4 separate regions of the Homo sapiens genome follow, and all the other regions are linked to region 1. Evidence: promoter capture Hi-C in 16 types of primary human blood cells and fetal thymus (Javierre and others, 2016). All regions are on one chromosome and are shown on one strand. Each heading gives the region's core, a stretch centred on a gene start or on the middle of the fragment in contact. The rest is flanking DNA. Distances are from core to core; before and after follow the strand shown. Region 1 holds the start of CD22 (CD22 molecule). Region 2 overlaps LOC124904701 (hepatitis A virus cellular receptor 1-like). Region 3 overlaps ATP4A (ATPase H+/K+ transporting subunit alpha). Region 4 has its middle 30 kb from the start of FXYD5.

The links. Contacts are between HindIII fragments. The CHiCAGO score rates a contact against its expected background, and 5 or more counts as called.
Region 2: a fragment that was not itself captured here is called in contact with the fragment with the promoter of CD22 in region 1 in 1 of 17 cell types (total CD4 T cells); the score reaches 6.1 in total CD4 T cells.
Region 3: a contact is called between a fragment that was not itself captured here and the fragment with the promoter of CD22 in region 1, in 1 of 17 cell types (M1 macrophages). The highest score is 6.8, in M1 macrophages.
Region 4: a contact is called between a fragment that was not itself captured here and the fragment with the promoter of CD22 in region 1, in 1 of 17 cell types (monocytes). The highest score is 7.9, in monocytes.

The regions. Positions count from the first base shown.
Region 1 is chr19:35,326,802-35,330,436 of GRCh38, forward strand. It overlaps CD22 (CD22 molecule), which reads left to right and starts at 2,386. Exons shown (of 14, transcript NM_001771.4): 1 at 2,386-2,429. RefSeq lists enhancers at 2,963-3,012, 3,083-3,132. The HindIII fragment of the contact is 19,927 bases long and covers 1-3,635 here.
Region 2 is chr19:35,096,030-35,099,664 of GRCh38, forward strand. The region is part of intron 1 of LOC124904701 (hepatitis A virus cellular receptor 1-like); the gene reads left to right. HPN-AS1 (HPN antisense RNA 1) reads right to left here. Exons shown (of 4, transcript NR_024562.1): 2 at 3,176-3,358. Among named protein-coding and RNA genes, the nearest start is that of HPN-AS1, 8.5 kb to the right of the region's middle. The HindIII fragment of the contact is 2,767 bases long and covers 355-3,121 here.
Region 3 is chr19:35,554,412-35,558,046 of GRCh38, forward strand. ATP4A (ATPase H+/K+ transporting subunit alpha) reads right to left here. Exons shown (of 22, transcript NM_000704.3): 11 at 3,244-3,436; 12 at 2,502-2,677; 13 at 1,265-1,401; 14 at 1,029-1,179; 15 at 755-923; 16 at 511-665. Among named protein-coding and RNA genes, the nearest start is that of ATP4A, 7.4 kb to the right of the region's middle. RefSeq lists an enhancer at 3,525-3,614. The HindIII fragment of the contact is 254 bases long and covers 1,646-1,899 here.
Region 4 is chr19:35,183,374-35,187,008 of GRCh38, forward strand. No RefSeq gene overlaps it. Among named protein-coding and RNA genes, the nearest start is that of FXYD5, 30 kb to the left of the region's middle. The HindIII fragment of the contact is 8,299 bases long and covers 1-3,635 here.

The DNA.
Region 1 (3,635 bases), core at 1,136-3,635:
GAGAGGGGGGTGCTTGTTACCACTGAGTGGTGGCGAAAGTCCCAACTCTCCACCAGGCCCCCTTTGACACTACTCCAATGGGGCCGGGTGGAATGCCTCATTTCTGCATTGGGGTGGCAGTGGATGTCCAGGCTGCCCACATGGTTTCCACCAACACCACATCGGGGGAGGGTGATCCCAGTGGGGAGGAATGTCCCAGCTCCAACTCTAGCATCACTCTGGCTGAGTATGGGAGTGGCCTAGGGTTCTTTGTTACAGCCTGGTGAAGGTGAATGTCTAGGTTTTCCATCCGGCCTTTGCTGACAAGGGTGATGATGGAACTTGGATGGAGCGGAGCAGGTATGGACTAAAAGAGCTCTGTCTTTCTAGGATGCCCCTTTCCTCGTTCTTTGGCTAGAAAAGCATAGTTTTGCTAGAACTTGTTCTGTTGGGACTTTTTCTTGTTTGTGCCCCTTGGCATTTTCAGTTGTTGGCTTCTCCAGTATTCAGCCTGAGATATATGAGGCAAAGAGAAATCCCAGGGAATTCACCACCATTCCTTAAGTCCCGAGGTTCCTAACCAGTCTGCTTCTCTCCATCTTTCAGTCTTCTTATGCTTGTCTTGTCACGTTCAAGGTTTTCAGTTATACTTGGCAGAATAAATAAATACATCTACTCCATCTTTCCAGAACATCACTGCTTTTTGTTCATTTTATTTATTTATTATTTACTGAGACAAGGTCTTACTTTGTTGCCTGGGCTGGAGTGCAGTGGTGCTATCATGGCTGACTGAAGCCTTGAACTCCCAGGCTCAAGCGATCCTCCTGCCTCAGCCTCCCAAGTAGTTTGGACCACAGGCATGGGCCACCATGCCCAGCTACTTTTCATTTTTTGCTTTTGTTGACTAGCCCCACAGAGTTTTGCTGTGTTGTTCAGGTTGGTCTCAAACTTCTGGCCTTAAGCAATCCTCTTGCCTTGCTCTCCCAAAGCGTATTACAGGCATAAGTCACCACACCCAGCCCTATCGGTGCTTTTGGAAGAAGGTGTTCTTCCCTCTCTCTGTTTCCCTCCCTATGGCCAGCTGCCCATAGAGGGCAGTGGTGCTGGAGTGAAGACCTCTCAGCGCATCCCTCTTCATCTGTAGGATGTGCATGGCTTCCAATGCTGTCTGTTCTGCTCCTGAGACACTCGCTGGCTACAGGATTATAAAGGTGATGAGGTTTCAGCCTAAAGACTCTCCATTCAATAACACTTCCTACAAGATATCTTTTTTGTTTTTTTGAGACAGGATCTGGCTCTGTCACCCAGGCTGGAGTGCCACAGCGCGATCTGCTCACTGCAACCTCAGCCTCTCGGGCTTAAGTGATTCTCCTGCCTTAGCCTCCTGAGTAGCTGGGACCACAGGCGCCCGCCACCACACCCAGCTAATTTTTGGATTTTTTTTTTTTTTTTTTTTAGTAGAGATGGGGTTTTACCATGTTGCCCAAGCTGGTCTTGAACTCCTGAGCTCAGGCAATCCACCCGCCTTGGCCACCCAAAGCGCTAGGATTACAGGCATGAGCCACCATGCCCAGTCCTACAAGATATCTTTTCTTTTTCTTTCTTTCTTTCTTTCTTTCTTTTTTTTTTTTTGAGACAGAGTCTCACTCTGTCACCCAGGCTGGACTGCAGTGGTGTGATCTCTTCTCACTGCAGCCTCCGCCTCCTGGGCTCAAGTGATTCTCCTGCCTCAGCCCCCTGAGTAGCTGGGACTACAGGCGCCTGCCAAAACACTTAGCTAATTTTTTGTATTTTTAGTAGAGACGGAATTTCACCATGTTCGCCAGGCTGGTCTCGAATTCCTGACCTCAAGTGATCCACCCGCCTCAGCCTCCCAAAGTGTTGGGATTCCAGGCATGAGCCACCGCACCCGGCCGAGATATCTTTTTCCTCCTCAATATCTATGTGCTCCTCCCTCAACCCTTGGGGGCTTCAGTGTAGGTGGTCAGATTCCCCACCATTTATGCCTATGATGAAAAGAGTGGAAATGGTAATAACTGGATGGTGTCACTAAACTACAAATACTTTCAGGTAGGCCTGTGCCTTTTTCAGCGGGCTGCAGTTCTCCTGCTTGGCTTGAGTCATTCGCATTTCCTGAGAGCTGGGTAGAGGGGGAGTTGTGGAGGAGCCCATTCTGAAACTGATCTGATATTGCAAACCCATACACGGAAAGGAAGAACTGCCCATACGTATTCGAGTCTTCCAATCTGACTCCGAGCCCGCATCCCCCTCAATCGTCTCTTTTCCCCACTCCCCAGATCACGGTGCTGCTTGGTCCCCCTCAGAGCCATAGAGAAGCAGGGGGTGTGGCCATGGAGGGGAAACCTCTGTCACCAGAGACTTTACTGTACTTCTCCTTTTGCTCTCAGATGCTGCCAGGGTCCCTGAAGAGGGAAGACACGCGGAAACAGGTAAAAATCATTTTGCTTTTATTTTGCATTCAACAAGCAAGTTATTACGGAACAGCAGTTATGGGCCAGGCATACCTCCCAGAGCTGGGAACACAGTGGGGACCTCCCTGGCTCTCTCTTACCGGTGTTACAACAGGTTGTAGACAGACCCCTGTCTTGAGCATCCTCCTTGCCAGGCCTGCTGAGTCTTCTGAGAGTAGGGTAGGTTATTGGATGCCCAGGAGGGAAGAAGGAGCCAGGGAGGTCAGCCCCAAGGTTCTGCAAGGCCCTCAACAGGCCTGGACTGAGGAGGTCTGGACAGCATGGCCCTGTCCTGAGCCTCTGTGCATAATAACTGCTGTCCCTAACCTCCACCCCACCCTCAGCCTTCCAATTCCCGGGCCTGGGGCCCTACTCCTGTGCTCCAGAGACTCCTGGAGCTCCTTGAGGCAGCACACAGTCCTGCTCTGGAGGCGCCCATCTCCCACTCATGCTGGGATGCTCCAGCCCGTCCCAGAGCAGGTTGTGGCTGGAGGGTGCTGGCAGAGGAGGGACAATGGCCCGGCTCCTGGAGGCAAGTGTTGGCTGCAGGGAACGGAGTCTAGTCCTTGCCACAGCCCTTGTTACCCCTTAGGTAACCTTAAGGGGATTTCAAAGAACTCTGGCTCTGCAACCCTGCTAAGTTTTTTATGGAACATGTAAAATAGATCCCATGGCCAAAGAAGTATGGACAATGTATTATACTATACTCTAATCCCCATGTCTAGAGATTAATGGTGTAGATAGAGTTTACTGAAAGGTTTTTAAAGTCCTGCAGTAAAGAATCTTACTTAAGCCAGGTGCGGTGGCTCACGCCTGTCATCTCAGCACTTTGGGAGGCCAAGTTGGGGGGATCACCTGAGGTCAGGAGTTTGAAACCAGCCTGGCCAACATGGTGAAACCCCATCTCTACTAAAACAAACAAACAAACAAACAAATCAGACGGGTGTGGTGGCACATGCCTATAGTCCCAGCTACTCAGGAGGCTGAGGCAGGAGAATCACTTGAACCCTGGAGGCAGAGGATGCAGTGAACTGAGATCACACCACTGCACTTCAGCCTGGGCGACAGAAGAATGAGACTCTGTCTCAAAAGAAAAAAAAAGAATCTTACTTAACTCTTTTACCCTGCCTTTCTCAAGTGTATGTGACCTTGAAGATGTTTTTTGCATGTGACATGATGAGTACC
Region 2 (3,635 bases), core at 488-2,987, 230 kb before region 1:
AGAATGGGTTGGGAGTTCCAGGGATTTCAGGGAGGGCTCTGAGCCCAGGAGGCCCCTGATCTGACTCAGGTGTCAGCAGATCCCTCTGGCTTCATGCAGTGGACAGATGGCCGAGGACCTGGGGGGAGCAGGTAGACTGGAGAGGAGGCTGACAGAATTGTTCAGGCAGAACGTGGCAGTGGTTGGAATCAGGAAGAGGGCAGTAGAGGGAGTGAGACATGGTTAGATTCTGGAAATATTTTGAAAGGATCAGCTGTGGGATGAGAGAGAGGGCAGGTTCCAACATGATTTGGTTTTTGGCCTCCGCGTCCTGGACAAGCTGCCACTGCCTGAGATGGAGAAGGTAGGAGAGGAAGCTTGGGGTAAGATTAGGAGTTCAGATTTGAACGTGGGGAGTTCGAGGTGCCTCTTTTCTCCCAGAGCTGGGACACAGCAGGATGCAGACACCTGGAGTTCTAGGACTGGTGAGGGCATTTGGGAATTGTCAGAATACAGCTGGGGTTTAAAGCCAGGCAAGTGGATGAGAAAAGTAAGGGAAGGGAAACGAAGGGGAAGGGGCTAAGGTGAACTTGGCAGTGTGAGGTGTGAGGTCCTTGGTGGCATGGAGCAGACAGCTCGGCTTGGAGATTCATACACCTTACCTGCTGTGGGGTCATGAGGAGTGTATGGATGGCACTAGGGGGTGGGAGATGGTAGGGGGAAATGGATCCTGAGCTCTTCCCCTGCACTGCAGGTGGACAGCCAGGCGGTAAGCAGGGCCTGGTGCTCCTGCAGGTGGGCACCTGGCTCCAGGTACAGTTCAATGGCCACAATATGCTGTTGGTGTGCGTGGGGCCTGAGTTCTGGAGCCACCTCTGCGGACTCTGTGGCAACTTCAGTGGCGACCCCAGTGATGACAAGGTGCTCCCCAGCAGGGTGCCCACCCTCAGTGATGCCATCTTTGGCAACGCCTGGTGGACCCAGGACAGCCGGCCTGGGTGGGTGGCTGCCTGGGACCAGGAAGGGCCCGGGTTGGGAGAAATACAGGGCTCAGGGAAAACAGTGGGCAGACAGGCAGGCTTTGAGAACAGAAAGGTGGAAGAAGAGGGTGTGAATTGCACACACAACTCTCAGGAGATTGATTCAGGTAGAATCAGGAACAATGATTATACCCTTTCACGGATGGGGAAGACTGAGGCATGGAAGGGCGAAGCATCTGCCCAAGTTCCCACAATAAGAAATGATGGAACGGGCCGGGCATGGTGGTTCTTGTCTGTCATCCCAGCATTTTGGGAGGCCAAGGCAGGAGGATCACTTGAGCTAAGGAGTTTGAGACCAGTCTGGGCAACATAGCAAGATCTCGTCTTTATTAAAAAAAAAAAAAAAAAAATTAGCCAGGCCTGGTGGTGGTGCACACCTGTATTCTCAGCTACTTGGAGGCTGCGGCAGGAGAATCTCTTGAGTCCAGGAGTTCGAGGTTGCCATGAGCCATGCTGGCACCACTGCACTGCATCCTGGGTGACAGAGCGAGACCCTATCAAAAAAGAGGGGAAAAAAATGGTGGAACAGGGATTTGAGTCCAGGCATTCTGGCTTCAGGGTCCCTGATCCTAAATACTCCACCCCCCCACCTCTCACAGGGGAAACAGGAAGCACTCCTCACAGAGACCTTATTTATTTATTTATTTATTTATTTATTTTTGATTCCTGCTCCGTCGCCCAGGCTGGAGTGCGGTGGCACGATCTCGGCTCACTGCAACCTCCGCTTCCCAGGTTCAAGTGATTCTCATGCCTTAGCCTCTCGAGTAGCCGAGATTACAGGCACACGCCACCATGCTCGGCTAATATTTATATTTTTAGTAAAGATGAGGTTTCACCATGTTGGCCAGGCTGGTCTTGAACTCCTGACCTCAAGTGGTCTGCCCACCTCGGCCTCCCAAAGTGTTGGAATTACAGCCATGAGTCACCGTGCCAGTCTCCCTTCACTGAGACCTTAGTCCTGCAAAGTCCAATGCACCAAACACACGTGCTATTTAAATTTATGTGTAAATTAAATTAAACATCTTCTGTCACACTACCTATATTTCAAATACTCGGTAGCCTCTGGTTGCTAGTGCCTGCGGTATTGGATGGCACAGACTTGGGGATTCGTCCAAGTAGCAGAGCTGGGATCTGAAGCTAACAAAGTTGGTTCCAGAATCCAGGATCTAACTAATAACTATCCTGGCTGGGCGTGGTGGCTCACACCTGTAATCCCAGCACTTTGGGAGGCCAAGGTGAGCAGATCACCTGAGGTCAGGAGTTCAAGACCAGCCTGGCCAACATGGCAAAACCCCGTCTCTACTAAAAATGCAAAGATTAGCCGGCTGTGGTCGTGGGTACCTGTAGTCCCAGCTACTTGAGAGGCTGAGGCAGGAGAATCGCTTGAACCCGGGAGGCAGAGGTTGCCAAGAGCTGCGATCGCGCCACTGCACTCCAGTCAGGGTGACAGAGCGAGACTCTGTCTCGAAAAAAAAAAAAAAATTAATGACTCCCTCATGTTGAGTAACTGTATGAAAATCATTTGTTACTATGGGGTTGAGGTTTTTAAACGTGTCTAAAACTGCACCAGGAGCTGTCAGCTGCTGGGAGGGAGAACCTGGTGCGGGCAGAGGAGGACTAGCCAAGGGTGGCCAGGGGGGAGGCAGGAGGAGGAGGAGGCTTGGAGGTGGTGGTGTTGAGTCCTGTGATCCCCCAGCTGCCGGCGGGACCCTGGTGGCGCTGAGCCCTGCCAGGACAGGCCCCGGGTGGAGCAGCTCTGCAGTGTTCTGGCAAACCGCTCCGGGCCCTTGGCCAAGTGCCACTGGTATGAGAGCCCCGTGTCCTACACGCAGGTGTGTGTCTCTGACCTCTGCCAGTATGGCACGGGCAACCGCATGCTGTGCACCATGCTGGAGGCCTACGTCCAACTCTGCGCCCTGCGCTGCGCGTTGCCTGCCCGCGTGGCGAGCCAGCCTGGGATGCAGTTACGTGCTCCTTCCCTTTCACCGCCCCCAGCTCCAACGATGGCCTCCCCACTTGGCTAGCTAGGATGCCTCCTTCGCCGGTGGATCGGAAGCCCTCATCCCCAGGGAGACCCCAGCCCTGCCTAGGATGTTAACCCAAGCTTCAAGCCAGACCAGGGCTCCTCTTGGGCCCTTCCTAATCCTACCTCTCACCTCCCAGCACTGGACCCTATATTGTCCGAGTTGCTCACTGTGTGCTGCAAGTTTGAAGTGGCCTGTGGGTGTGACATGCATAACAAACCACGTGGTTAAAAGTTTCATCGGAACAATCGGGAGGCTGCAGTGAGCTGAGATCATGCCATTGCACTTGGCCTGGGCAACAGAGCAAGACCCTGTCTGGAAAAAAAAAAAAAAGAACAGTGGCAGTTTGGGAATCGTCCTGTGGTTCATTCCTGCCCTTCCCTCCCCTGCACTCACCCTGATTTTTTTCTCCCTCTAATTGAGGGAGCAAAGGTTTCAGGGTTGTGGCCTCTGGGCGATCTTTCCCCTCCCCCAGGTGTGGCGTGTCCAGCCAACAGCTACTATGACTCCTGTGGGCCACCCTTCCCGGCCACCTGTGCTAGCCTCAACTCCTCCGCGCCCTGCACCCTCCAGTGCACAGTGAGCTGCTTCT
Region 3 (3,635 bases), core at 523-3,022, 230 kb after region 1:
TATGAGTACAAAATTAAGGAAATGATGGTGTGTCTGGCCCAGAGAAAGCACTGTGTAAATGTTACCGAATAAATACCTGTCAACACAGCTGCGCCTCTGGCTGCATTCGTGACTGTATCTGTGGTTCTTTTCTGTCTGTCTGCCATGGGGTCTATCTGAGGGGGTTTATTTGTCCGTGTCTGTTTAGGGGCACGTGTCTGTGATTCAAGTTTGGCCAGATACCTGTTCTGTTTCCATCTCTGTCTGAGTATCTGTATCTGAGTCATGTGTGTGCATGGGTCGGCCCGGGCCTACCTGAGTGTCCGCCTGTGTGTGCATGGCTGTATGTCCATTTAGGTCTGTTCACCTGCCTGCCACCCATGTGTCCTGCACTGGCTGTCATTGCACACACAGGTCTTGTCTGTCACTCTGTGCCCAAGAGTGTCTGTGGTGGTCTCTGTCCCTCCTGTCCATCTGCAAGCAAGTGTCTCTGGGCACCCTGTGGATGGGTACCCTGGGCTGTGGACTTACAATGTCAGTGCAGAGTTCGATGAAGAGGATGGTGATGCACCCGAGGGGCAGGGGCACGCTGACGGTGATGTAGATGAGGTAGGGTGTCAGCTCTGGGATGTTCTTGGTCAATGTGTAGGCAATAGACTTCTTCAGGTTGTCGAAGATCAGTCGACCTGTGGGGTAGGGTGGGCACCTCAGCCTCCTCACAGCCCTCTCCCTCCTGTGCCCACACTGCCTGCCCTCCCCCTGGCGTGGCTCGGACCCTGCTCCACGCCTGTCACAATGGAGGCAAAGTTGTCATCCAGCAGGATCATGTCAGCTGCATTTTTGGCAGCATCTGAGCCAGCGATGCCCATGGCTACTCCGATGTCTGCCTTCTTCAGAGCTGGGGAGTCATTCACACCATCCCCCGTGACGGCCACAATCGCACCCTGCAGGCAGTGGGTGCAGGTGGTGGGTGGGTGGTCAGTGAGAGGCCGGTCCAAGACCAGCCCCGCCTGTCTGCCCGCCTGCCCACCCTCATCAGCAGGGCTCACCAGCCGCTGGCAGCTCTCCACGATCACCAGCTTCTGCTGGGGGCTGGTGCGCGCAAACACCATCTCGGGGTGGGTGCGCAGGGCCTCGACCAGTTCCGATGGGTCCATGTCCTTCAGCTGCATGCCATTGATCACACAGGCACGGGCATCCCTGGGGAGGAGATGGGAGGACCTCGCTGGGACCTCGGTCTGTGCCAGATGTGGGGAGAACCCCGGGGAGGTCTGGGGGGGCTTACTTGCGATTAACCTGGTCTACGGGCACACGGAGGCGGGCAGCGATGTCCTCCACTGTCTCGCTGCCTTCCGAGATGATGCCCACACTGGCTGCAATGGCCTTGGCGGTGATGGGGTGGTCACCCGTTACCATGATCACCTGTAGGGGGAACCAGTGGATCACTGACCCCTTCAGATCAGCCCAATCTCCCTGTCCTCCCTGGGAGACATCTGCTGATACACGTGTTCATTTACTTGACCAAGCGTGACCACCTCCTACGTGCCTGGGATATAGCAGAGACAAAAGAGACAAAAATCCCTGTCCTTGAGGAGCTCTAGTGAGGGTGACAGAAAATAAAGAAACGAATTATATAGTGTGTTAGAAAGTGGAAAAAAACATATTAAGCTTGGTGAAGGAAACGGTGACTCGATTTTAAGTGTACCCAGGGAAGGGCTTATTGAGAAGGTGATATCTGAGCAGAGACCTGTAAGAGGTGAGAGAGTCAGCCACGTGGAAAGCTGGGAGAAGAGTGCTCCTGGCAGGGAGAACAGCAGGTGCAAAGGCCCTGAGGTGAGGACAGGCCCGAACTGTCGGAGGAACAGCAGGGAGGACACCATAACTGCAGAGGAGTGAACAAGGAAAGAGGGCTAACGAACAAGCTTAGAAAGGTAACAAGGCCCGATGTAACAGGGCCGTAGAGACACGGGAAGGGCTTGGGCATTGCCTGCCTGGCCTTGGCTTTCCCACCCTTGTTTTGTGTTTGGGGAACCACTCCTCTCCCCTACACCATCAGTTGCAGTGAGGTCCCTGGCTAAGATTGGGTAAGTAAGCCCAGACCTGGCCAATCAAGGTCTTCCATCCCCCAGCCCCAGTGACTGGCTCAGGGATAAATGAGTGACCCAATCCAGTGCTACTGCAAAAGAGGCACTCTCTTTTTGTGGGGTGGCTAAGCAGGTGGGAGTTAAGTTTGAGCTGCTGGAGCAGGGGTGTGTGTGTCCCCAAGTGAAGGGAGTGCCTGCAAATAAAGCCAGCAAAGAGAACAGCAGAGCTGAGACATGGAGAAAGGAAAATTCCTAATGACACTGAGCTCCTGGATCTGGCTAGACCTGAAGCTTAATTCCCCAGAATTTTTCAGTATCATAAACCAATGCATTTTGGTTCAAGCCAGTTTCAGGTGGGTTTGTCATGGGGTTCTTCAACCCAAATCCTGCTGCCATCCTCTGTCCTCACTCCACTTGTTCCTCCCCACAGTGGCATACCCGGATGCCTGCGGTGCGACACTTGAGCACAGCATCAGGGACGGTGGCCCGGGGTGGGTCAATCATGGATACAAGTCCCGCAAAGCAGAGGCCGCTAGATGGAAAGTTCATGGCCTCTACGTCGAAGGCATAGCCAGGCGGGTAGTCCTTCTCATTCAGGTAGAGCTGGCAGAAGCCTGACCGGAAACGGGGAAGTCAGGGAAGAGCCCTGGGCACACCCTTTCTTAGCAGGGCCAGGAAATGGGTAAAATAACCAGGCCCCTTGCACCAAACACCTATGGATGCCTGACCTTGTGCTGACCCCTTCACTCACATTATCTGAATCTACCCTCACAACCACCCTGTGAGGCCCATTCTCATCTTACAGATGAGGAAACTGAGGCTCAGAGAGGGGACATTTCTTGCCAGAGGTCACACAGCAAGTAAAAGGCCCAGAATTGGACCACAGATCTGCTTTCTAGGGTAGAGGCAGCGAAGTTTAAGGCGTCAGGACAAAAATTGGGAGAGGTTAGAGGTCAGGATACGGATAAAAGTCCAGGTGAGGACTGGGGTCAAGGTAGAAAGTGAGGACAGACAGGGGTCAGGACTGGTACAGGGAAAGTCAAGGGTGAGGCTGTGGACTGCGACAAATCAGCCAGCAGCCAGGGATGAGGACGGTCAGGGCTGGGCCGGGAGTGGTGGGCAGGGTCTGTGCTAGCTCCTCCTCGCACCTGGAGTCTCCTCCCCTGCCCAGGGGTCTCACCGAGCACGCGTTCGCCCAGGCCTCCCAGGCTGAGGTAGGCGGTCTGGAAGGCCTCGCGCCACTGCTCGTCCAGCGGCAGCTCCTGGCCCTTGATAAGGATGGAGCTGCAGCGCTCCAGCACGCGCTCGGGGGCGCCCTTCATCACCAGCAAGTGTCGCGGGTCCCGCGGGTCCTCCAGCGTATGGATGGACAGCTGTGGGCGGGGGGGAGAGGCGAGGCTGTGGACGGGGGAACGGGGCGGGGCTGTGGACGAGGGAACGGGGCGGGGCTGAGGAGAGGGGCGGGGCCGAGAGCTCGGTGCGGGCTCTGAGAGCTGCGGGGAAGGGTGAAGGTGGAAGATGGAGGCCTTGTGTGGAGGGGTCCTTGGTAGAAGGTAAGCGTTAAGGCGGGGC
Region 4 (3,635 bases), core at 380-2,879, 140 kb before region 1:
CAGGAATTTGAGAGCATCCTGGCCAACATGGCAAAACCATGTCTCTACTAAAAATACAAAAACTAGCCAGGCATGATGGTGCATGCCTATAGTCCCAGCTACTTGGGAGGCTGAGGCAGAAGAATCGTTTGAACCCTGGAGGCGGAGGTTGCAGTGAGCCAAGGTCGTGCCACCGTACTCCAGCCTGGGCAACAGAGTGAGACAACATCCCCCGCCCAAAAAAATCAGGAAAACAGTTCATGATCAGAATGAAAAAAAATCAGTAAAGAGATGGATATCATAAAAAAAAACACATAAATTTTGGAGCTGAAGACTTAATAAATGATTTTTTTTTTTTTTTTTTTGAAACAGAGTCTTGCTCTTGTCACCCAGGCTGGAGTGCAATGGCATGATCTTGGCTCACTGCAACCTCTGCCTCCCAGGTTCAAGCAATTCTTCTGCCCCAACCTACTGAGTAGCTGGGATTACAGGCCCCTGCCACCATGCCCAGCTAATTTTTGTATTTTTAGTAGAGACGGGGTTTCGCCATGTTGGCCAGGCTGGTCTCGAACTCCTGACCTGGTGATCTGCCCACCTCAGCCTCCCAAAGTGCTAGAATTACAGGCGTGAGCCACCGATCCCGGCCAATAAATGAAATTTAAAATATAATTGAGAGCTTCAACAACAAACTAGGTCAAGCAGAAGAAAGAATTTCTAAACTTGAAGACAGGTCTCTTTTGAAATAACTCAATCAGACAAAAAATAAAATAAAAAAGAATGAAGGAAGCCTACAAGACCTATGGGACATTGTTAAGCAAACAGATATTCCAATTTCCAAAAGGAAAAGAGATGAGAAAAGACACAGAAATCCTATGTAATAAAGTAATAGCTGAGAACTTCCAAAGTCTCGGGAAAGGTATGGACATCCAGATTCAGGATGCTCAAAAGTCCCCAAATAGATTCAACCCAAAAAGGTCCTCTCTGTAGCACATTCTGGTCAAACTGTCAAAAGTTGAAGACCATGAGGGAATTTGAAAAACAGCAAGAGAAAAGCATCAAGTCACATATAAGGGAATCCCCATTAGACTAATAGAAGACTTCTCAGCAGAAACCTTATATTACAGGAGCGAATGGGATGATATATTCTAAGTGATGAAAGAAAAAAACCTGGCAGCCAAGAATACTGTAACAGCAAATCTATCCTTTAGAAATGAAGGAGTCATAAAGTCTTTCCCAGACAAGCAAAAACTGAGGGAATTTATTACCACTAAAGTAGCCTTACAAGAAATCCTCAAGGAGTAGTAAATCAGCAAATTATCTGAATAGGCATTTCTCAAAAGAAGACATACAAATGACCAACAAGTATATATGAAAAATATTCAACATCATTAATCATCTGGCAAATGCAAATTGATACTACAATAAGATATCATCTCACTCCACTTAGAATGGCTGTTATCAAAGAGAAAAAATAACAAAAGCTGGCAAGGATGCAGAGGAAAAGGAACTCTTATACACTGTTGGTGGAAATGTAAATTAGTACAATCATACTGGAAAACAGTATGGAGGCTCCTTAAAAACACCTAAAAATAGAACTATCCTATCTATGATCCAGCAATACACTCTAGGGTATATATTCAGAGGACAGGAAATGAGTATGTCAAAGAGATATCTGTACTTATATGCCAAAGATAAGGTAAGCATGGTTACTATAGTTGATAGTGAAGTCAAAATAGTAATAAGAATAATGTGACTCAAAGAGACCTTTGGCATTCACTACTTTATCATGGTATGCCTCGAAATGAAATAGATGGGGGAGCCTACTAAACTCTTGCTTGATCTGTCTAGGTGGGTAAGTTCTGAGTCTGGCAGACTTGCAGCACCATTCTCAATAGCCAAGATATGGAATCAACGTAAGTGTTTTTCAAGAGATGAATGGATAAAGAAAATGTGGTACAGATACACAATGGAATACTATTCCACCGTAAAAATAATGAAATCTTGTCATTTGTGGCAACATTAATGAGCCTGTAAGACATTATGTTAGGTGAATTAAGCCAAGCATGGGAAGATAAATACCACATATTCTCATTCATATGTGGAAGCTAAGAAAGTTGATATCATAGAAGTAGAGAATGTAATAGTGGTTACTAGAGGCTGGATAGGGGTTGAAGGGGATAGGAAGATGTTGGCAAATGGATACACAATTACAGCTAGATAGGAAAAATAACTTCCAGCATTCCTTAGCACTGTAGGATGACTATAATTAGCAATGATTTATTGCACCATTCCTCAGGACAATCAACCAGTCTGCTGATGGCTAATTAATTACGTCGAACTGTCTCTTTTTTAATTTTCTTTTCTTTTTTGAGACAGAGTCTCGCTCTTGTCACCTAGGCTTGAGTGCAATGGAACAATCTCGGCTCATTGCAACCTCCACCTCCCAGGTTCAAGAGATTCTCCTGCCTCAGCCTCCTGAGTAGCTGGGATTATAGGCATCCATCACCACACCCAGCTAATTTTCATATTTTTAGTGAAGACAGGGTTTCATCATGTTGGCCAGGCTGGTCTCAAACTGCTGACCTCAGGTGTTCCACCCATCGCAGCCTCCCAAAATGTTGGGATTACAGGTGTGAGCCACTGCGCCCAGCCACATTGAACTGTTCCTGTCATGGAAAGGGCAACTCTTTTTTCTTATTTTAATTTTTTAATTTTTGTAATAGAATTCGCTTACCATACAATTCACATGCCATACAGTTCACACATTTAAAGCATACAAGCCGATCTGATTATTTCACATTGCATGCCTGTATCAAAACATCTCATGTTCTCCATAAATAAATACACCTATGATGTACCCACAGCAATTAAAAATTTTTAAAAATCATGTACAAGTCAATGGTTTTTAGTATATCCATAGATATGTACAGCCATCATCACGATCAATTTAAAAACATTTTTTTTTTTTGAGAGAGAGTCTTGCTCTGTCACCCAGGCTGGAGTGCAGTGGCATGATCACGGCTCACTGCAAACTTGGCCTCCCGGGTTTACGCCTTTCTCCTGCCTCAGCCTCCCGAGTAGCTGGGACTACAGGTGCCCGCCACCACGCCCAGCTAATTTTTTGTATTTTTAGTAGAGCCGGGATTTCACCATGTTAGCCAGGATTGTCTCGATCTCCTGACCTCGTGATCCACCTGCCTCGGCCTCCCAAAGCGCTGGGATTACAGGTGTGAGCCACCGTGCCCAGACCAATTTTAAAATATTTTTATCACCCCCACAAAAGAAACCCAATGCTCCATAGCTATTTTCCTCCTGTTCCCAAATGTCTCAGCCCTAAGCAACCACTAGTCTACTCTCTGTCTCTATATATTTTCCTATTTTGGACATTTCATATAAATGTATTCATATAATATGTGGTGTCTTGTGATTGGCTTCTTTCACTGAATGTAATGTCTTCAAGGTTCATCCGCATCATAGCATGTATCAGTACTATGTTCCTTTCTATGGCTGAATAATATTTCATTGTGTGGATTTACCACATATTGGGGTTTTTTTTGTTTTTTTTTTTACAGACCCCGCCCCCCCAAATATTGTTTATGCCTCCATCAGTTTGTAGATATTTGGTTTTGTTTTCACCTTTTGGCTATTATGAATAA